4 separate regions of the Homo sapiens genome follow, and all the other regions are linked to region 2. Evidence: promoter capture Hi-C in human tissues and cell types (Jung and others, 2019). All regions are on one chromosome and are shown on one strand. Each heading gives the region's core, a stretch centred on a gene start or on the middle of the fragment in contact. The rest is flanking DNA. Distances are from core to core; before and after follow the strand shown.

Region 1 (5,832 bases), core at 3,331-5,830, 740 kb before region 2:
CACTCTTTTATTCTTTCCCCATAAATTCACACATGACACATAAAGTTCAACAAAATTGGTTCTATTTTGGATACAATTTTCTTGAAGTCTTTGCATTTAGTAAGTTGGCAATTTACCTAACCCCAGTGGGCCTTAGTTTTCTCATCTAGAAAGGGGACATAATTGCTATTTCCTAGTAGATTATTTAATAATTGTTTCAAAATATATTTTTAAGAAGCAAAATATGGTTTTGTGAAAAAAAGTTTCTAAAAAGCAAGAACTATATTTTTACCTCGTGTATATTTTTAATTAATTCTCAGTGAATCATAATTTAATGAAATTATAGGGTAGTATCCCCAGTTACAGAGGAAAAATGAATCAAGAAACATAAATGATTTATATATAAAGATCTTTCCACATGCCAGTGGCATACTTAAGTTAAAAAAAAAAAAAAAGATAAATGGGGCCTGCCTATGCAGAGAGAAACATTCACTACAGGAAAAAAATAAGATTAAATTTCTTGCCTACAACACGCTGAGAAGAACAAACCCCTTCTATCATTGAGAACTACTCATTTATTTAGCTCTGCCTAATTAAAATCAAGTTTCTAAGGCAAGAATGCCTCATAGGCCGGGCGCGGTGGCTCACGCCTGTAATCCCAGCACTTTGGGAGGCCGAGGCGGGTGGATCATGAGGTCAGGAGATCGAGACCATCCTGGCTAACAAGGTGAAACCCCGTCTCTACTAAAAATACAAAAAATTAGCCGGGCGCGGTGGTGGGCGCCTGTAGTCCCAGCTACTCGGGAGGCTGAGTCAGGAGAATGGCATGAACCCGGGAAGCGGAGCTTGCAGTGACCCGAGATTGCGCCACTGCAGTCCGCAGTCCGGCCTGGGCGACAGAGCGAGACTCCGTCTCAAAAAAAAAAAAAAAAAAAAGAATGCCTCATAAATTTTATCATGTAATAAACATATAGTTTTATTTATTGTTTAATTAAATTAGTTATAACTTGATATTTGCATTTCTATCAATCAGACTTTAAATTATATTGGTGCTTCAATTGATATCCAAAGTTCCTCTAAGTAACAGTTGCCTTATCAATTAAAAAATAGGGGGCAACAGCTAACTCATGGCAGATGTGAGGATTTGACCATGATTGTACTTATGTGAGCCTTGCATATGGCATACAAGAAATAGACAGTGACTGTTAATATTTTTTATTTTAATTATAATTATTTCAATTGCTGCTATTAATAAAAGCTCTTAAACATCATCTAGGGAACAAAAGTAATTTATCAATAATTTTAAATTACTACATATTACATTAAAAGATGCATAATAAATGATTTATGGGTTAAATGGAGATAAGAGGATATTAAGACATAATAGCCTATGTCTTGACATTCCCTTGGTTAATAAAAGTGGTTAAATTTATGTCCATTACCACTCTCCTAAAAAAAAAAAAAGTCACATTGACCACCAAACTTGGAGTAATTCAAAACATAGAGGAGATGTCAAATAGATCTCCTTCTTTTATATACTGGCATGTTTGTTGTTAGTGGTTTGGTTTGGTGTTTGTCCTTTCTGCGTTTTAGTAAGAAAAGATTTCAACTAAAGATTAAGGTTGCCAATACATTGTCTGGTTTTAGTGAAGCAAACAGGAAGTCCATTGGACTTGGGGGAAATAATATTCATTCAAGTATGGACCCCAGGGTGACTCATTAGTTTTGTGAATGTAATGTAGATAGGTATCCATTCTTTTAAGGAAATATGACAAACATGTCTTTTTTTCTGAGGTAATGTCTTACCAGCAGCTTGTACGTTTCTGGAGAGAAGGACGGGTCTAGAAGCCTCTTGAAAGTAAGAGGAAAGAGACAAAGTCAGCTCTACAGTAAGAGCTCAATAATATGTATTGGATAAACTAATAAAGAAATGAATCCTAATCTTTTTCATTTTCTTAAGCTTCAACATTACTAGTGATAGATATTGCTGTGGTGTTTGAAGACATAGTTACTGCTATAAACTTTTGGCAAGAATGCAAATTGGTATGTTTCCGGAAAGCTAGTTTGAAACATGGAGCAAAAGCTTTTTAATTGCCTTTACCCATTATGGTCAAGGTAGAATAGTTTTTGCAGATAAAATTTTCAGTGCAGAATGAAGAAATGCTGAAAAAATATTTTTTAAAGAAAATCTACCAAAGATAATAGAGAGCTATTAAAGTGGCAAGTACTTGGAGGCCCAGAGTTGACAGAGGTGACTACAATATTTGGCACTACTTTACCTCAATGGATGTTTTCATGTCTCAAGAGCAGCTGACAGGCTCACAAGAAGAGAATAGCTTCCAGAATTCTGATGGGACTATAAGAGAGTCCTGGAATACATCTTGAGTTTTTTTTTTTTTTTTTTTAATGACTTTTAGCTAGAATTCCAAATGGCTGAATCTAGCACAATGAAGCAGACTTCACAAAGACTAAATTCCAACCTCCAAGAGGAGGCTAAAGAGATATAATAATTAAATTTAGCATGGGATTCTTGGACAGGAAAATACATTAAGTAAAAGCTAAAGAAATCTGAATATAACATTTAGTTTATAATGATGTATCAGTATTTGTTTATTAATTGTAACAAATTACCATACAATGTATGATGTTAATAATATGGGAAACTAGATGTGAGGTACATATAGAAACTCTATATGGTATCTCATCATTTTTCTGTTAATATAACATTGTTTTAAAAATTAAGTCAATCAAAAAACAAAGATGTGACATATATAAATGGATAAAATCGTCTAATTAAAAACAGAAATTGACATACTGCATAACAAAGAACAAACAAAACCCTTTGTAACTTAAAATAGACAGACTCTAAATATAAAGATATTAAGAAATTAGAAATAAAAGAATATAAAGAAATATGCCATAGAATCACTAAGCAAAATAAATCTGACAAATACTAGAATATCAGAATATTATAGTTAATTATATTCATTATAAATATCAAGAAGTTTAATATTTTATTTAAAATACCAAAATCATGATGTTTAACTAGAAAGTTGATAGAAAGAGGGATACTTTATTATTTTAAAAGCATCAACTTATTAGAATTATATAGAACTGTTTTTCCTTTAATGAAATAGACTAAAAACATCTATCACAAATATTGACAAATATAAAAAGAGGAAAATACAAATGTTCCATCATCAAGGGAATCTTGGCACACTCTTCTCAGTCACTGATAGAATAAGGCATTGATAAAATCAGATAAAAAATAAGAAAGGATGTTGAAGATTAAAAATAAAATTTAAAAATTCTGCCTACTTAACACTTATAGAAGACTATAACCAACATCTACAGAATATTTTTTTTGGACATGGAACTAAATCAAAGTATGTTCCGATCATGGAGAATTAAGCTTGAAATTAACAACATAAGGATAACTATATTTTAACTTTGAAAGTAAGCAAAAACTTCTAAATTAACAATAGGTCAATAAAAATTAGAAGGCATTTTAAAGTAAATAAAACATAAATAAATGTAAATATAATCTCAGCACTTTGAGAGGCCAAGGCAGGAGGATCACTTGAGGCCAGGAGTTTGAGACCACTCCTGGGCAATATAGCTAAACCTTGTCTCAACAAAAAGTAAACAAATTACCAGGCATGATGATGCACATCTGTATTCCCAGCTACTCAGGAGGCTGAGGTAGAAGGATTATGTGAGCCCTGGAGTTCCACGTTACAGTGAGCTATGATTGTGCCACTGCAGTCCAGCCTAAATGAGAAAATGAGAACCTGTCTCCAAAGAATAAAACAATAAAAAAAAGATGTAACTAAAAATTATCTCACTGGATGAGGTTACACTGTAGTTAAGATTTCTAGGCCTAAGTATATATGTTTTTTTTTAAAGATTAAAAATTCATGGCCTAGATGTGTTTTTAAAGATATTAAAAGAATGTCAAATGAGCTCAAAGCAGGAAAAAATAAGCAGAATAGAATAAAAGGTGTCTTAGTCCATTTAGTGTTGTTATAACAGAATGCCCAAGGCTGGATAATTTATAAAGAAAATAGGTTTATTTGGCTAACAATTCTGGTGGCTGAAAACTTCAAAACTGTGCAACTGTATATGGTGAGGACCTCAGGCTGCTTCCTCTCATAGCAGAAAGTGGAAGGGGGGCCAGTGTGTGAAAAAAAAATTCACATGATGAGAGTGGAAGCAAGAGAGGGCAAATAAGGAACCCAGACTCTTGGTAAAATAGATAGACCACTAGCCAGACTAATCCATTTCCACTACAGCAAGATTTCATTCACCCCCAGTGCATTAATCTACGTATGAGGGATCTACCACCATGAGCCAAAGACTTCCTTCCAGACTTCATTTCCAATACTGCTACATTGAGATGAAATTCAATATGAGTTTTGGCTGGGACGAATCACATCAAAACAATAGCATTATGCAAATAAATATAAAATGTAGAGAATCAACAAAGCCAGAGGTCAATTTGTTGAAATAAATAATAAAACCAGTAATTTCCTAGCAAAGCTGATCAAGATTAAAAAGAGATGAATCATAAATTACCAATACTAGAGGGGTAATCACTACAGCTCTAACATATGTTAAATGAGGAAGTTATTATGAACAACTCTATGCCATTATTGGAAAATTTAGATAATAATGAAAACTTAATTAACAAATGCAACTTACTAAAACTAACCCAAAAAGAAATAGAAAACAAGTTCATGTGATTGTTTTTAGTTGCATAACAAAGTTGATAAAATTAATGTCTAACCGGTATTTAAGCAAAGCAAGACCTTAAGCAAACTAGAAATAGAAGTGAACTTTCCTAAGTGGATAAATGATATTAAAAATAAAAACAAACAAACACCTATAGAAACACATACATTGACTCTTAATGGCAAAACATTATAAACTTTCCTCCTGAGATCAAGACTCAGGCAATAGAAGACTACTTCTAATTGGCATTCTTCTGGAAGTGGTAGCCAGTGCAATAAGGCAAGAAAATTAATAGAATTGGAAAGTCAGAAATAAAACTATCATCACTCACACTATATTTGCCTATAGTTATTAAAAACATAAAAATTAAAAAGCTCTGATGTATTAAATCAAACAAGTGAATTTAACAAGTTCACTGGATACAAAGTTAATATATGAAAGTCAATCACATTTCTACTTTAACAGCAATTAGAAAATGAAATGTAAGTACCAATTATAATTATACATATGTATAGAACTATACATAGATTACATATACATAATTTATACAATCATGTGTATATGTATGTGCATAATTCACAAGATACCTATAGAGAAAGTACAGATCTAAATAAATTGAGAACTATAACATGTGAAGATTCTCTTCAAATTGATCTAGAATTTTGATATAATTACTAGCCGAGTTGTGTATGTGTATGTGTGTAAATTGGTGAGCAATTACTGACATGCTAGTAAAAATTAAAGTCATGAAAAAAGACAGTCTTAGAAAGGATTTTATAGCAAACAAACTTACAACTTTTAAAATATGTTTTCTTTCATCATTTATTTCTCTAAAAATTTCAGAAAATGAGAGCATCCGATAGCCATAGCCAGATGCTCATCTCACTCTCTGTTTCTAACTCATCAATTTTATAGGTTTATTTTGTAATTGATTATAACAGAAGATAGCTCAGCTCCCATTTTTTCAGGTATAGTTTTGGGACCCACAGGGGGCCAAGGATGTTGAACTCATTAATAAATAACCTTCAAAAGGCTTGCAAGACACATTTGAAAATCTGTTCAAGTACATATTTTGAAAAGAGGCCATGGGGAAAAATAGTAAAGAAGTTAAAATATACTGTC
Region 2 (6,113 bases), core at 648-3,147:
GAAGAATAGGAGACAGGCAACATGGCCACTAACCCAGGTGAGCCACGAGAGACTGCTCTACAGAAGTAGGTAGCAAGAGACTAACCTTGATACAACCTTAAGCAGAACAGACCTTTCAGAGAAGCAGGAACCGCTCACAGCGTGGGTTTCAGAGTTTTTAGCTACCCGCAAGTACTTTGGTTTCTCCCACTTTTACCACCCTCCTAGCCCCCAGAGCCCCAATGGAAAACTTGTACCCACGCTACTGAAAGACGAGACTAGAAGCTTGGACACTTCACATTCCCTGCTCTCCCTTCCACAATTGAGCCACTGCCCTGGTTTTAGAAGTGGGGCTTGTTTTGCTCTGAAGTAACCCTTAACGTCCTTAGAAGTAGCAGCTCCCCTACCCCTCTCCCCACGCCTTTGCCTTTTAAAAACCTTAACTTTTGAGAGAGAGAAACAGCACAAGTTCAGGCCCAGCAGAGTAACCCCTACGTTGTTGCCAGCAACTACTTCAAGGGCAGTTAACCGTGCTTAAAGACGCCAAAAGCATCCATCTCCCGCTTACAACAACATTTAGCTACCCCCCACCCACGTACTTTGCTTTCTCCCACTTTTACAACCCTCCCACCCCCAGAGCCCCGAGGGAAAGCTTGTACCCATTCTACTGAAAGATGAGACTAGAAACTTGTACACTTCACAGCGCCTGCTCTCCAGCTGAGCCACTACCCGGGTTTTACAAGTGGGGCTTGTTTTGCTTTCTTAGGAAATAACCTTTAACTTCCTTAAAAGCAGCAGCGCCCCCACCCCCACTTTTGCCTTTCAAAAGCTAAACTTTTGAGAAAAAGCACGAGTTCAGGCCTAACAAAGAGTAACCCTTACGTTCTTGTTGCCAGTAACTACTTCAAGAAAAAGCACTTAACCGTGCTTAGAGAAAGACGCCAACAGCATTCCTCTTCCACTTACAACAACATTCAGCTACCCGCCCGCACCCCGCCAAATACTTTGCTTTCTCCCACTTTTACAACCCTCCCAGCCCCCAGAGCCCCAAGGGGAAAGCTTGTACCCATCCTACTGAAAGATGAGACTAGAAACTTGGACACTTTACAGCCCCTGCTCTCCCGCCACAACTGAGCCACTACCCTGGTTTTAGGAGTGAGACTTGTTTTGTTTAGGAAATAACCTTTAACTTCCTTAAGACCGACAGCTCCCCCATCCCCCACGCCTTTTTTGCCTTTCAAAAGCTCAACTTTTGAGAGAAAAAGCACGAGTTCAGGCCCAACAAAGAGTAACCCCTACGTTCTTGTTGCCAGCAACTACTTCAAGCAAGGGCACTTAACCGTACTTTAAGAAGACGTAAAAAGCATCCCTCTCCTGCTTACAAAACCCGAGCAGGAGGACTGGCGGCTGGGCAACGCCCGGGACCGGTCAAAAAGGAGAGGCCGGGGAGCGCCCGCCACGCAACGCGGTCACAGGTACAGAGAGGTTTTTCCAGACCCCCACCAAAGCCCGCCAGTACTTTCAGCGTCTTTAAGACCCCCCCGCAAATAAACTTCCTACAGCCCAGCTTCTCCTACAAGCTAGCAACAGAAAGGCACCCACCCCCCGACTCCCAGAAGCATTCTGACGCGGCTGCTTGTCTGCGCCGCCTTTTCAAGGGCCCGCGGGGCGTGCTATACGTCACTTCCGGGGCGGGGCGAGCAAGGCGGAGGCGGGGCCGGGGCCGGCGGGGGAGGGGAGCGCCAGGTCCGCGCAGGCTCGCCGGGACCGCAGCCGCCGAGCCGAGCGCTTGACTATATATGGTCAAAGCTGGGGGCGAGCCGCGCGCGGGACCGCGCTTCCGGGTTCGGGGCGTCCGCAACCACAGCGCGCAGGGCAGGCGCGAGCTGGCCTCTGAGCCCCGGCCTCGGACCGCCCACTCCACTCCCGGCACGCCCGGTGCCGCCTTCCGGCTCCAGTCCCCGGGCTCGGCCTCGGCGAGGTGTAATTCGCAGCGCGGGCCGGCCCCGGAGGCTCTCGGCGAGCGCGGCGCGGTAACAAGTGGGCGAGGATGCCGTACGAGATCAGTAAGTGCCGCGGCGCGGGGCCCCCGAGCGGCCGCCGCGCTGCCCCGGCCCCGGTCCCCGGCCCCTAGGCGCCGTGCGGGTGGCGGGGGAGTCCTCGGCGCGGGGGAGGGGTGCGGGCGCCGGCCGGAGGCGTGGCGGGGCCGCCCTCGGTGGTGCAGGGCGGGACCCCCGACGGGGGGTGCGCCCCCAAGTTGGCGCCGTGGGCCGAGCCGGAGGAGCCCCGCTGCCCCCAAGGGCCTGGCCCGGGGCGCGGACCAGGAAGTCGCGCGGTTCCTGGCGCTCGTGGAAAGTGGAGGCCGCCCTCCCGGCGCAGTCAACAGGTGACCGGCCGAGACCGGTCCGGGGCTCCTTCTCCCTTCTGTCCCCGCCGTCCCCGCCCTGCCCTGACATGCCCCGCCGCATTTGTGTCTCCGCAGAGAAGGTGTTCGCCAGCCTCCCGCAGGTGGAGAGGGGCGTCTCCAAGATCATCGGCGGCGACCCTAAGGGCAACAATTTTCTGTACACCAATGGAAAGTGCGTCATCCTAAGGAACATCGACGTGAGTACCCCCTACCCCGGGCGCGGTTCTGCTCCGGAGCCACCTTGGGATGGGATAATTCGCCTTCCTCTCCACTTCTCACCTCCTGCCCATTGGCCCGGGGAGGGTGAGGGCGCCACGCCCCCTCTACCGGGAGCCACACCTCGGAGCCCCGGAAGCCGGCCTCAGATTCACCCAGGTCCTTGTCTGCTCCTTCTTGATGAGGAAACTGAGTCTTAGTTCGTTTCTGTCTACGGTCATAGCACCCTGAAAGCGCCGGATCGCCTCTGATCTTGGAAGCTAAGCACGGTCAGGCCTGGTTAGTACGTGGATGGGAGATTAGATTAGTTCATTCCTTAAAAGCAAGGGCTCCGGATTTGAGGGATCAGACTGACCCGGTCGGCCGCTGCGTGACCTTGAGAAGATTGGCGATTTGGGCATCTCTGAGCCCCAGTTTTCTCGTCTGTAAAACAGATGATGAGATGATGACCACTCTCGCTTCGCCTGCTGGCTGGGCAGATGGAATGAATGAGCTGCTGGCGTCCCTCAAGCCCAGCGGTGCCTGGTGCACTTTGAGCCCTTGCTGAATGGAATGGCACTCAGCTAACTCGCTGTTAATACCCTGGTCTTCCAGTATGGCAGAGCCCGGAAAAACACCCGGGCCTCTGGGCCAGCCAGATCTGCCACCATGGATCTAAGCCCCAAAGCAAAAACAGGAAGCAGTGTTTTCCCATGAATCATTCTCTGCAAGCCTCCGGTACCCAGGCTGAAAAGGCTTCTAGAGCCAGCTCCTTGGGAAATCCTTGCAAATTCATGTTATTCCTCTGTAATTGTTGGGGTGACCCAGTCTGTCAGTCTCCCTCCCTTCCTGGGTTACACGCTTAAATTTTGCTTTTCCCTTCCTCAGCCTGAGTGATGGAATTGGTGGGGTGGGAGTTGGAGGTGCCGGCCCGGCCATTGGGTGATTTCTCCTGTGCTGTGCTTAGTGGGGGCGGCTGGCACAAAGATGTATGTTTTGATTGATGCCATAGGCATACAAGGGTTGTCAACTTAAAGTCAGCCTGATTTCCCTTGGTAGGTTGGGACTGTTGATCGGACACACTTGCCCTCCAGGAGGCCAGCAACTGGCTGAGGGAATGAAGGGGTCTCTGGGTCTCAGTTTCCTTCTCTGTGAAAGGAGAAGCCTCTTGGTCCGAAGAGCTGCTGGCTCTGCCCGCATCTGTCTCGTTAACCCAGGCAGTCGCTGCTGTTCCTCTGCTGGAAGACAGAGCTCTACCTGCCCTGGATTGCTGGGCCCCTCAAATGAGGGGGTGGGCGGGTGTGAATGTGCTTTGAAGGTGCTAACAACTTGCTAGTCACACAGATTCCTAGAAAGCCGAAGGGCCTTGCTTAGAACTGGAGAAAATCACCAGGGATCTAATGGTAATGATCTGGAAGTCTCCGAAGGCAGGTCCTGAGGCTTTTGAGAAAATAAAAATTGAGACAACCCTAAAGAGATATTTAGTAGTTTGGCAAATAAAATCCACTAACACGTCCTCGGATACAGAGCAGTAGGATATTTCGTTTTGCCCCTAACCAGGCCTTCCCTGTCGTTGCAGTCCACATTGACTTCCAGGGAGGGGGCCTCACATAAAGTACCTGCTGTGCATCTGGCCCTGTGATAGCTTCTTAAACTGTAGCATCTCTTTCCACCCCACATGGGTCCGTTACTCTAAAGAGGAGTCAGACTTAGCAAGGTGAGGCAGGCCAGTAACTGGAGCTGCTTCTAATGGAGTGGTCATTCAGGGACAGGCACCCCTTTGCAGAAAGCATTTCCCAGCTTGTGAAACCCATTCTGCCTGTTTCTGAGCTCTGTATTCTTACCCCTTCCCCGTGGTTTGCCATTTTCTTCTCAGGGGTTACCCTGTTTCCCTTCTCAATTATTTTTAAGTTTCTGCAATGCCAGGTCAGCACGAGATGCTACTAATATAGCCCTCCCTGGGCTGGATGTAGATCAGGCACTGAGTCTCTTGTTAGTTGGATGGGTGGACTGGGTACTCAAGTAAAGGTGGGTACGATTTTTTTTAGGGCAAAGTACTCTTGGAAAAAAAAGTGACATGAATTGGCATGACCGTTCAGGAAGGATGATGGTCTGTTTGGAATGCAGGCTCAGGGAGGGAAGAGGGAAGAAATGGAGGACCAGATCATGGAAGATCTAACATGTCTCATTGACATCTCAGACTCAACATACATACTCCAAGCCAAATTTGTGTTTCCCACGTGCTCTTCCCCTAAAAGGGAACACCGTTCCTCCAGCTGTTCAGGCCCCAAACCTTGGACTCCTGTTTCACTCTCTGCTTCGCTACTGCGCCACATTTTAATTTTAGTAAATCCTTCTGACTCCACATTCAAAGTATCTTCAGAATCTAACAGATTTCCCTGGCTTCCTCTGCCTCCACCCACGACTAAGCTATCTTCCCCCACCTGACTTATTGCCCCCAGACTCCCGAAAACCAAACAGGTCTCCTTGCTTTCACCCTTGTTGCCCTGGGGGTCTGTTCACAACACTCGCTGGAGTGGCTGAAACACAAGACAGGCCTCTAGTGGCTTCCCACCTCGGTGAAAGCCAGAGTCCTTACCGTGGCCTCGGCTCCAGCGTTCTTGCCTCCTTGCTGCTTCTTGAACATGCCACACATCTGTCTTGGTACCTGCTAGTTATTGCCTTTGCCTGGACATTTTCTCAGATAGCTGCAAGTCTTGCTCCCTGTCTTCTCTTTGGTTTTTCTTTTTTAATTTGAGGTGGAGGCTTACTGTCGCCCAAGCTGGAGTGCGGTGGCGTGATCTTGGGTCACTGCAACCTCCACCTGCCGGGTTCAGGCAAATCTCCTGCCTCAGCCTCCCGAGTAGTGGGGACTACAGGTACGTGCCAATTCACCTGGCTAATTTTTGTATTTTTTAGTAGGTAACGGGGTTTCGCCGTGTTGGCCAGGCTGATCTTGAACTCCCAACCTCAAGTGATCTGCTCGCTCGCCTTGGCCTCCCAAAGTCCTGGGATACAGGCGTGAGCCACCACACTAGGCCTTTCCCTTTGGTTTATACTTAGATGTAGTCACCTTAGTAGAGGGGTGTCCCCGGAATAGAATTTTCCATCCCCGGCCTTCTGTCTTTCTCATTGCTGACAATAAGTAGGAAGCAAGCTAACAAGCAGCAGGCTACGGCTGCCTACAAGTGTACATAGGTATCTGCCTGTCCCCCTAACTGGGCATCAGCTCCAGGCCAGCAGGGCTTTCCCCTCTCTTTCAGTCACTGCCGTGTCCTCGCCTAAGAGAGTGTCTGGCACACAGTAGGTGCTCAGTGAGTTACTCATTGATTAAAAAGCCTGGAAAACCAGGCTGTGTCGTGAAGATAATAGGCAGCCACTGAGGTCTTACTGCATGAGAACAAGGAAAGCTCAGCTCAGTGTAGATTGCCGGACCTAAATTTTGTGGAATCGCCTTTCATACCTAAGAGGCGAGCACCGTTGCCAGCTTTGCACTTGGAGCCCCCTCTGTCATTTATTTTGTTGACTTAAA
Region 3 (5,786 bases), core at 1,819-4,318, 580 kb before region 2:
ACTTTATGGCCCATTTTTTTCAAGTCTACTTTGTGCATATTTCCCAGCTGAGTGTTCTTCCTGCCTGCAACGTCCTTTCTTCCCTTAGTATCTGGACACCTGTGAGAGCCTCTCAGCTTGTTTCCTTCCTTGCTTCAGGTCTTTACCCACAAATCTGCTCCTGCAAATGACCTCATGGAAAATGGAAATTAGATCATGCCATTCCTGTATGTAAAACATCTTCAATGGCTTCTCATTGTCTTCAGAATAAACTAGGGACGTCTTTACATGCAAGGAGCATGGTAAATATGCTGACCTGTCTAGCCTCACCTCTTGGTTCTCGTGTCTTCACACCTGTGTGCCAAGCGGAAAATCTGCACCCCTGCCATGTCTTCTCAGTGCCTTTGCCTCTGAATAGGCAGCTGTCTCTGCATGGAATGTGCTTCCCACTTCCTCTTGCTGCCTAACCACGCTTTCTCCCACTGACCACTACTGAGATGGTGTGGGATTCCTCTTAAGAGTATGAACTCTGGAGTCTGTCTACCTGGATTTCACTTTAAGTAGAAGTACTTGTACTTGTTTGGCGACCCCATATCACCTCACCTTTCTGTGCCTCAGTTTTCCCGTCTATAAATTGGGGATCATTCATCTACCTCACAGAGTAATTGTAAGGATCAAATGAGCTAATAAATGTGAAGCCTTTTCTATGGTGGCGTGTGGCAAGCACTGTTTAAGTGTTTCTTAGGATCAGTTCCTGCATATTATCAGGTTCCTTCCCAGCTCCTTATGCATATCTCTGCACTTCCATTCACCTAACAACTTGCCTATTTATTTTCAGTATCTCACAGCACAACAGGCTCCTTGAGAAAGGGGACTGCGTTTTATTTTTCCTCCCAGAGTCTAGCACAGGACATGGCAAGGGCTAGGAATTCAGTGAAGGTTTGCAGTAGCAGCAAATAATGCTGGCTTTCAGCTGTGGTCTCGCACACACAGTCTGATAAAGGGGGGTCAGGACACATATGTTTCATGGGGGACCTTCAACCACACTGGCTAAGAGAGAGGCAAGGAAGACAATACTTTTAAGCGGGAGATTTCATTTTACATTCACAGGCAATAGATGCAACCAAGCCTGAAATTGACAATGTCTGCTTGCAAAATCTGTAGCATGAGTTTAAGTATTTCCTTGTCAAAATATTGACAAACAAATGAAACAGCTATATCTCATTCATGGCTAGGAAGGTTGGATGGTGATAGCTCCATGGACATCTTTATGGAAGAATTGGAAGAAGAAGTTGAGGGCTTAGAGATATTTGACTAAGCAAAAGTTAGAGAGCTGGTAAAAGCTTTTACGGGTGCAGACGGTGATCACGATTTTCCAGCAATTTAGTCGTAACAATTTGCTGAAATGTTTCAAGCAGTGAAACAGTTGACTAATTTTATTTTTGAATACAAAACATCTGTGTAATTATATGTGCATCATTTTGTACATGTATAAGATGTACATATATATAATCAATATTGTCATTTCACAACGGCACTTGTGTATTAGTTTGCCATTGTTTACACAAAACCATGTTTCTTTCATTGTATGAAAGACATAGGGATTTTTATAGGTAATTTTCCCCACCCATGCTTGTTAGCAGCTTACAGAAGAATGTAAACTCCTTTACGACCCACCTGCACCAAATAAAGGGTCACGTGGCTTAGAGTCCTGAGGCCTGAGCTCCAGCACGACCACTGCATTTGAGCTGCATAACTAAGAAATCCTTCTCTTTTCTATGTGTTGAGTTTCCTTATCTGCCTTATCTGTAAAATTATAAATGTCACCTACATCACAAGTTGGGTTCTGAGATTTGAATGAGGTAAAGATTTTTGGAAACTGTGAACCCCTGTGAATGTATAATAACAACCCACCTAAGTCTGTCTTGCAAAATAATAAATAATTCCAACATCTCTGTAAAGTCAGCCTGGATATATATTTGGCTTTGGAGTTAGACAGGCTTTGATTCCAAGGTTCACGTTCCTCCTGCTAGCTATTGTTGTAACCACAATGACCTTCAGTTTCTTGTAAAATAATCATATCGCTCCCAAAGCATTTACTGAATAATTCTAATATTGGATGTACTATGTAGCCTATTTCATTTATCCTAATTGTAATTCTCAGTTTCTTTACCCCCAAAGTCAGCATCTTCTTCATCTCATTATGCCTTATTCCATAGCTAGCCATTCTTCCCTTTGTGAAACCTGTTTCTTCTCTGATTTCTATTGAAATGCAAAAACTTCATGAGTGTATCAGGGTTCTCCACACAAACAGAGCCAATAGGAAATATATATATACACACACACACACACACACACATATGCACACACAGTCAGTCCTTTATATCCACAAGTTTCAACCAACCACAGATTAAAAAATATTAGAGGAAAATAACAGTACAACAATGAAAAATAATACCAATAAAAATACAGTATAAGAACTATGTACATAGCATTGATATTGTATTAAGTATTATAAGTAATCTAGAGCTGATTTAAAATATATGGAGTGGCGGGGTGCCGTGGCTCATGCCTATAATTCTAGCACTTTGGGAGGCTGAGGCGGATGGATCATCTGAGGTCAGGAGTTCAAGAGCAGCCTGGCCCACATGGTGAAACCCTATCTCTACTAAAAAATACAAAAATTAGCAGGGTGTGGTGGCAGGCAGCTGTAATCCCAGCTACTTTGGAGGCTGAGGCAGGACAATTGCTTGAACCTGGGAGGTGGAAGTTTCAGTGAGCTGACATGGTGCCACTGTGCTCCAGCCTGGGCAACAAGAGCAAAACCGTCTCAGAAAAAAAAAAAAAAAAATATATATATATATATATAGAGAGAGAGAGAGAGAGAGAGAGAGAGACAGAGAGGATGTACATAGGTTATATACAAATACAATGTCATTTTATGTAAGGGACTTGAACATCCATGGGTTTTTATATCCAATCCTCACAAATAGGAAGGATGACTGTGTGTGTGTGTGTGTATACACACACGTATGTGGTGTGTGTGTATACACGTATGTGGTGTGTGTGTGTATACACGTATGTGGTGTGTGTGTGTGTATACACACATACGTGGTGTGTATGTGTGTGTATACACACACATATGTGGTGTGTATGTGTGTGTTTAAGAGACAGAGAGAGAGAGAAAGAAACGTAAGGAATTGGCTCATACGATCATGGAGGCTGAGAAAGTTCTAGGATCTGCCATCAGCAAGCTAGAGACCCAGGAAACCTGACGTGTAGTTCCAGTGTGTGTTCAAAGGTATGAAAACTGGGAAAGCCAATGGTGTAAGTGCTAGTTCAAAAGTTGGCACCCTTGAGACCAAGAAAGAGTCAACTTTAAGTCTGAGTCTGAAGGCTGGAAAAGACCAATGTCCCCACTCAAGCCGCCATGACAAAAAGAGTTCCCTCCTACTCAGCCATCTTGTTCTGTTTAGGTGTTCAGTCGATCAGATGAGACCTACCCACCTGCAGCAGGGAGAGCAATCTGCTTTACTCACTCACATGTTAATCTCATTCAGAAACACCTGCACAGTAATCCCCAGAATATAGTTTGGCCCAATATCTGGGCACCTCATGGCCCAGTCAAGTTGACACATAAAACTAACTGCTGCAATTAGGGTTCACAAGAGCTCTTTCACTACTTAAGTTGAAAGATGTTCCCTGACCTTTCCTTGAAGATTTTGGTTGGGGGGTGAAAATATCTGAGAAATGTGAGAATTTTGGAAGGAGCTCTATCAAGAGACAGAAGGGACAGGTGGATCTGAGCATGAAAGGAAAAAGCAGAGAGCACCAAGAACAAAATTAGCTTCACAGATTTTCAGAAATATGAACAAACCTGTTTTATATATATTGTCACATTTTATTATTCCAGTAGTCACCCATTTATTTATTTATGTACTCACTTAGCAATTAACATTTACTAAGGGCGTAATAATGGCATGGGTATTTCACCAGGTACAAGGGTCAAAGATTCAACTATAGTATGGACCTTGCCCTCAGAGTGTTCCTGTAAACTTAACCATGTTTATAAATGTATTAAGAATAATGTTTAATAAAACCCTATAATTGCTAGTTTGAAAATTGTCTTTAATGTTATCTAGTGTAAAATCACCACCACCAATGACACCACTCTCACCACCAGAGGCTTCCAATTTACAGACACATGACTATATAGACAAGGAATTTACAAACCACCTCCTGAGTTAATAGTTCATGGATGTTCACCTCTCATAAAGGTCTTAATTCCGAACTACAATCTGCTTATTGCAGCTTTTACCCCCACATACCTACTTATGTTACAGAAATTAACACAAAACGGTCAGCACTTCCATAGACATATATCCTGTTCTGGTCTTCATGGTTCTGTTTGATGATCATGATGATGGAGAGGATGAAGATTAGTATCTACAATTTCTTGGATTCATATTATATGTCATGATTCTTTGATGAGCCTCGTTTTATTCTCACAATTCAAAAAAGCAAAGGCAAGGTGGCTATTGTTCGAATGAGTAGATCAAAATGTAGAAGGATTGGTTACAGTTCAATGTTCCCAGGAGAGTGAAGAGCCAATTTAGGTTTGGGAACCAGTAGGCAGCTTCACCAAGGAGGAGCTAGCAGACAGAAAATTAAAAGCAAATTTATTCTCTACACACCCAGTGGCCGTCCTAAATACAAGAAGAGTCTACTCTGGCATGAGAAGCCATTCTTGTTGGACTGCTGAACTTAGAGAATGAATTATTTGGGAAAGGGGAAGAAGGTGATAATTCTTTTCTCTCTCACACTGTCATCCATCGCCATAATCCTGTTTTCATTGCACTTCTACTTGCAAGGACCACCAGTGGCTTCTTTTGCTCACCAAGGGAGATGATGGACTGGAATTTCCTGGAGACCCTGACCCCAGTTCCAGCAGAGTCTTCCTCATTAAGGCAGTCATGCGGGCTCTTCTAACATTGCTTTAGTTCTCACGAAGCCCCGGCCTGCTCAAGTATTCATGTCTCTGAACTCCGGATGTTAAATGAACCACAGTAAAACTCAGGAATTCCTCATAGGTAACTTTGGGGTGAGAGAAGGCACGGATCCAGTGTCAGTGAGATTGCTGCCTTGAATCTCCATGGTAACCCTGAGTCCAGGTGCACAACTGACTTTTATGAAGGGATTTTAATATTTATTTTGCAATCATGAGTGTCTGGAACCATTCACCTGTGGCAGAAAATGTAGAAAGGTTGAGGGGTGACAGTTGGGTTTGCTATTCATAGCTGGAGATCTTTCAATTGTTCCAAGAAAGAGGACACCAAAAATTGATTATCTAGACTGCATGTTCTCAGACTATAATGTGCATAAGAATCACCAGGAGAATTTGTTTAGAATGCACAGTCCTGCATTTGAAATCCAAAGATTTTAATCAGTGATCTGGGGAAGGGCCCTGGAATCTGCATTTTTAACAAATATCCTGATTGATCCAGAGAGAACACTGTAAACTCAATCTTAGAGGGAGCTTGCCTTGACATGGGTTTCCCAGAAAACAGAACCTAAAGCATTTATGATTGACTACTTCATTTGAGAAGGCAATCCTAGGGAGGCTGGAATGAGGGCAAATGGGAAAGTGGCAGGCTGGGAAGGAGAGCCAACAGGAGGAGAAGACTTTCGGCTATTGAGTGCTTTGTATCATGCCCAAGGAGTGTTCCATTTCACTTTCTTGTGGTGCTCTTCTCCTACAGCCCTTACAGCCCACTGTGTCCTGAGGAGTTTCTCTGGAGGACAAAAGG
Region 4 (5,486 bases), core at 769-3,268, 630 kb before region 2:
ATGCAAACAAACTCATCCAGAGAAAGAATAGTGATGATTTCTGTGTTTGGTGTGAGACTAACACAGATGAAAACATTTTTCAGGAGAGGATTCAAGCAAACTGAAGATCATTGTCCTAGAACATGCTCAAGATTCATTCAGATCTTAGGACTCTAGGATTCTAATGCTGCCACTGTTTTCAACTCAATTTATGTAGGGTTTTGAAATAACAGCTTCATTGAGGTACAATTTATAGGTCAGAAAATTCACTGTGTCAAAGTGTACAATCCAGTGATTTTTAGTATACTCAGAGTTGTGCAACAATTATGACTATTTTATTTTAAAACATTTCATTTCTCCTTAAAAATTCGCATACCAATTAGCAGTCACTCCCTATTTCCCCTAACTTCTTCTTCTGAACAACCTCCAATCTACCTCTTGACTATAGATTTGCCTGTTACGGACATTTCATAGAAATGCACTCATATGATATGTGATATTTTGTGACTGGCTTCTTTCACTTTACATGTTTTCAAGGTTCATTCATGTTGTAGCATGCATGGGTACTTCATTCACTTTTATGACTTTATAACATTCCCTGGTATGAATATATCACATTTTGTTTGTCCGTTCATTAACTGATGAACATTTGGGTTGTTTCCATTTTTGGTTAATTCAAATAATGCTGCTATGAACATTTATGTCCAAGTGTTTTATACCCAGAAATGGAATTTGTAGGTGATAACTCTGCTTAACATTTTCTCCACATCCTTATTTGTACTTGTCTTTTTTATTTTAACCATCCTAATAAGTGTGAAGTGGTAGCTCATTGTGATTTTGATATACATCTCCCTAATGAGTAATGATGTTTGAGTATTATTTTTGTGTGTTTATTGGCCAGTTGTATATCCTCCTTGGAGAAATACTTAATATTTATTTGGAGAAATGTCGATTCAGATCCTTTGCTCATTTTTTTGATTGGGTTACTTGCCTTTTCATTGTTGGGTTAAAATTTTTTTATGTAATACAAATTCCTTACTAGATAAATAATTTACAAATACATTTTTTTCATTTTGTGGTTTGCCTCTTCACATTCTTGCTGGTGTCCTTTGAAGAATAATTTTTTAATTTTGTGATAAATGTAAGGGTTTATTTTTGCATCCTTGATTCTATTCCATTATTCTGTTTCCATTCTTATGCCGGTACCACACTATCTTGATTACCATAGAATTATAGTAAGTTTTTAAATCAAAACATGTGAGTTATCCAACTTTGTTTGTACTTAGAATTTTTTCTTCCAATCTGAGCTTCTTGATTTTCCATATAGATTTTATAATCAGCTTAATTTCTTCAAAAGAAATTACCTGAGATTTTGATAGAGATTTTATTGAATCTGTAGATCAATTTTGGGAGTATTGCCACTTTAGCAATATTAAGTCTTCTGATGCATGAACATAAAATAGCTTTCCCTTTATTAAAGATTTTTCTTTAATTTCCCTAAATTAAAGATTCTTCTTTAACTTCTTTCAGTAATGTTTTATAGTTTCATGTATAAGTACTGCACTTCTTTTGTTAAATTAATTTCTTCATATTTTAATCTTTTTTAATGCTATGGTAAATGGAATTGTTTTATTAGTTTACTTTTCATATTGTTTATTGCTAGTATATAGAAATGTAATTGATTTTATATCTTGATCTTGTATCAATTTAACAGTAGGCACACCGGCCACACATGTACAAAGATTAACAGAAAACTCAATTTACTTGTGAACAGGTAAATTCTCAAGTAAAAGATGCTTATTTTTTCTTTTATCTCTTAAAAGTGATGCTTAGAATTACATTTTCAACCTATCTTAATTTTGTGTTTGTCATTGAAAGACATTGTCAGATAAGACAGAAATCAGAATAATGGGTCGGAGCAGACAGACGAGAACAGGTGGCATAAACCATGGTCCTGGAGGCCTGAACATGCTTTGTTCTTCATGGCCCTGACAGTTACCCTACAGTTTTATGCCATTTTCATATTATTCTTGCAATTAGAGAACATTGAAGACAGAAACAATTGTATTACTTAACAACATGCTAGAACAATAAGGCAACAAATCTTAAGTCTTAGTCAATGTGCTGTTTTCAGAATGTTTTTTTTCTAGGTTATAGCGAAACCTAAAGAAATAAACAATTTTGGTTCAATCTGTGCTTCTTGTTTTACACAGTTTTGGTATATTCTCCCCAAACCACTTCTGCTCTTATTCCCTGGGGACCCTATTTCATTTTCAATCTTAACACCATTCTCATTTTCAAAATCGTTCATGCAGCACACAGAAATAGAAATGTAGGCTACCAAAGTCAAGCTGAAAAAGCAACTATCCAGTACATCCCCCATCCATAAATGACCGCTGTGACACTATCATGCTTTGCACACACCTCCCTTTCAGCCCTCTTCACAGTCTATTACAGCCATTCACTCACATATTTGTCCCCACAAACTCTTATAGAAAAGACCCATGCCATTTTCATCACTGCATCTCTAGAGCATGGAGCACAATGGCTAGCCCTTAGTGCATGCTTAGAAAATGTTTTCCAACTGAGTATGTAAAGGGAATTTCTTTTGAAACTCTCCTTTACCCTTTCTAAGTCTCAAAACAGCTTTACAAACATAATTGCTTTGGCATAATTTTTCTAAGCATTTCTTCTGACATTTCTTTTGGGAAATAATTTTACCAAAAGTCAATAGAGTTATTGAGCACCTGCTGTGTGGAAGACTCTGCCAGATGTTATGGCACATAGAACAGAGCTTTTGATCTAGCTGAGGACACAATGTATGTAGGTGATAAAAATCAGTGCAAACGTTGACTGAGCACTTACATGTGCCAGGGATGATGCTTTGATGAATGTAACTCATTTAAGTCATGCAGCAAATGAATGCAATGGGCACTAGTCCTATTCTCTCTGACAGGTGAAGGAATGGCAGGTGAGCTATGTCACTTGCACAAGGTCACTCAACTTATAAATGGCTAAGCCAAGATTTGATCCCAGGCAATCTGACCCCAGGACATATTTAGTTAACCAACAACCTCTTTCGCACATACAAAGTCACAGATGATAATAGACAAGTAAATTTTTTTATTCCTCCAGAAATGTAGGGGGACAGATGATCACTATAGACCAGGATGTTCACTGAAGGATTCAAAGAGATGATAGATTTCAGTAAGCTGAAAAAAGCTGAGCCAAATTTAAACACAGTAACAAGGAACTCTAGACAAGGGGAAACTGTGAACAACACTAGAGAGCTTGGTGGGGGGTTCAGTCATTCTGAGGTAATGGTTAATACTACCCAATGTACTATTCTGGGCAATGAAGATAAAATAAGACAAACTGCATGTTCTCATGGACCTTACATAACAAACAACAAAAAAATAAAGACAGACTTGTCTAGTGGAGAGATGTGCTATGAAAAAAGTAATAAAGCAGCATAAGGAAACTGAAACAGACAAAGGATGTGTTGCTATGTAATAAAGTGCACACAGAAAACAGCCTCTCTGTGAAGGTGACATCCCACCTGCCACCCATAGTAGGAAAAAAGCAGGGAGACATGTGAAAACCAGTGAATTAGGCATTTCCAGGGAGAGGAAACAGAATATCCAAAGGCCCTGAGGTAGAGCATTCTTACTGAGTGTGAAGAAAGTGAGGGAACCAATATGGCTGGAGTGCAGCCAGTGAAGAGTAGAGAGGTGGGAGGTGATACCCACAGGGGCCAGGATCTGTAGAGTCACGTAAATCATTGCAGTCACTTTGGATTTTTCTCTGCTGAAGACTTTCCATCAGCTTCCCATCTGACTCACAGGAACAATACATGAGTCTTCCATTTCAGAAAGATCACTCTGGCCAAATGCTCCTAGAATGAAGGAGTACATGAGCAGGTAACCAGGGATGCTTGAGGAGAGGTATTCTTGGCCAGCTCATGTAGAGAATGTTCGTGTAGAGAAGCAACAGAAATTGAAGCTGAAGACAGTTGATTGGGAGTCGTCTTTGTTGCCATGCTGGCAAGCTTAGACTTTGACTGTGTGGCAATCAGAGGGTTTGCGGAGGACACTACATCACTACATGAAATACATGATATGATGCTCATATTTCCTGTTCCAAATGTCTTCCTGTTCTATACATATCATAGGCACTGATAATATTCAGAATTTTTTAAGAAGTATATTTGACTAGGTGAGATACAGGAAACCAATGAAACACAAAACTATCAGGGGCAGCACTGTCAGTGATCCTTAACAGGTAAGACAAATTCAAATTTTATTTTAATAATACCAGACATCTTCTGAGCATTTACCGTATGTTAGACACTTGGATACAAACTTTCTTTGGATTAGGTCATAAGAACTTAAACAATCAGGTGCATCTTGATTCACAGTTGTGAAACCCGAGACCAGGAGAGGTTGGGCAACTTAGCCGTGTTATAGTTAAGAAGTGGTGAGGCTTGGGAGTGGGCATGCTAATATTCTGCATTTCTTTTTAAATATTACCATACTCCAGTATAAATATTTAAAACCAATTTACTTCACCCAGGTTTATGAACAAATTCTAGCAACTCCTAAGAATTTGTCTATAAGGAATAAACTGATACCTCTGTAACACCTAAACTGGAAACCTGTGTTTAGAGCTTGGGAGAGAAAGAGGAGGAATAGTAGATCAACTAAGAGACAGGAAGAGGAGAAGACCTAGAAGAATGTGGTTCCTGCATGCCTCGTTGGTGATATTGCACCACAAAATAGCAATTTGTCATAAAGCAAAATTTATAGTTCTCAAGAAAAAAAAACATTAAAATGTTTAGTTTTTCTTCACAGGATCTTAAAACATTCTAAAAATCACTAAGAATATTTGGTGAAGATTTAGTTCTCACCAAAGGTAACTAAAAATGACTTGTCCACAGTCCCACACATGATGAAGCTTAAGCTGTACTAACCTCACATACTCCTCTCCTATCTTGGGATTTATTTACTTTTCCAACTCCGAATTCCATATCTGATTAGGAGGGCAGCCACCATGACAGAAAGAACCCAATTTTGCATCTTAGCCCTCCAAACAAAACTACATTTTACTCCTAAAGAAAACAGGACTTCCTTTAGGCTTAGGTTGCTACGTTGAACTCTGCAGGCTAGAGAGTTTTTCCAACAAATGAGCCTAACTCAACTTTCACCTTAGAAATCAGAAATAAGAGTAATCCATTCTTCACATTAAACATACAGCATATAAGCCACAAACAGAGTGTCAGAGAATTTCTTCTTGACAACATCTTGTATTCATCAGTTGGAATTCATTTAGCAGAAAAGACCCCTTCTGTCCCTATGAGCCACCACTTCTAGCCCTGCTATGACTAAAGCCGATTCCTGTTGACACAGCTCATTTTTGTTTTCTTATCTGTATAGTAGATAGATTCCTACCACATAAACACCTCATGCATGTTATGTCAGGTATAACTGGCAAAAACATTGTTTTCTTAT

The links. Contacts are between HindIII fragments. The study calls those that stand out against the background at their distance.
Region 1: a contact is called between a fragment that was not itself captured here and the fragment with the promoter of WDR1 in region 2, in 2 of the 25 tissues and cell types used here (lymphoblastoid cells and mesendoderm cells).
Region 3: a contact is called between a fragment that was not itself captured here and the fragment with the promoter of WDR1 in region 2, in 1 of the 25 tissues and cell types used here (lymphoblastoid cells).
Region 4: a fragment that was not itself captured here is called in contact with the fragment with the promoter of WDR1 in region 2 in 1 of the 25 tissues and cell types used here (lymphoblastoid cells).

The regions. Positions count from the first base shown.
Region 1 is chr4:10,857,116-10,862,947 of GRCh38, reverse strand. No RefSeq gene overlaps it. Among named protein-coding and RNA genes, the nearest start is that of LINC02498, 120 kb to the right of the region's middle. The HindIII fragment of the contact is 3,705 bases long and covers 2,728-5,832 here.
Region 2 is chr4:10,112,583-10,118,695 of GRCh38, reverse strand. It overlaps WDR1 (WD repeat domain 1), which reads left to right and starts at 1,897. Exons shown (of 15, transcript NM_017491.5): 1 at 1,897-2,045; 2 at 2,462-2,583. The coding sequence starts at 2,030. LOC124900666 (a long non-coding RNA gene) reads right to left here and starts at 1,607. Exons shown (of 2, transcript XR_007058030.1): 1 at 1-1,607. It also overlaps the pseudogene RNA5SP155. RefSeq lists enhancers at 396-485, 566-665, 2,436-2,585, 2,236-3,040, 4,873-5,373 and silencers at 1,586-1,705, 1,716-2,125, 2,206-2,355. The HindIII fragment of the contact is 10,393 bases long and covers 836-6,113 here.
Region 3 is chr4:10,696,557-10,702,342 of GRCh38, reverse strand. It overlaps a transcript of CLNK not described here. Among named protein-coding and RNA genes, the nearest start is that of CLNK, 15 kb to the right of the region's middle. The HindIII fragment of the contact is 6,731 bases long and covers 1-5,786 here.
Region 4 is chr4:10,740,333-10,745,818 of GRCh38, reverse strand. The region is part of intron 2 of LINC02498 (long intergenic non-protein coding RNA 2498); the gene reads right to left. Among named protein-coding and RNA genes, the nearest start is that of LINC02498, 5.5 kb to the right of the region's middle. The HindIII fragment of the contact is 4,925 bases long and covers 1-4,480 here.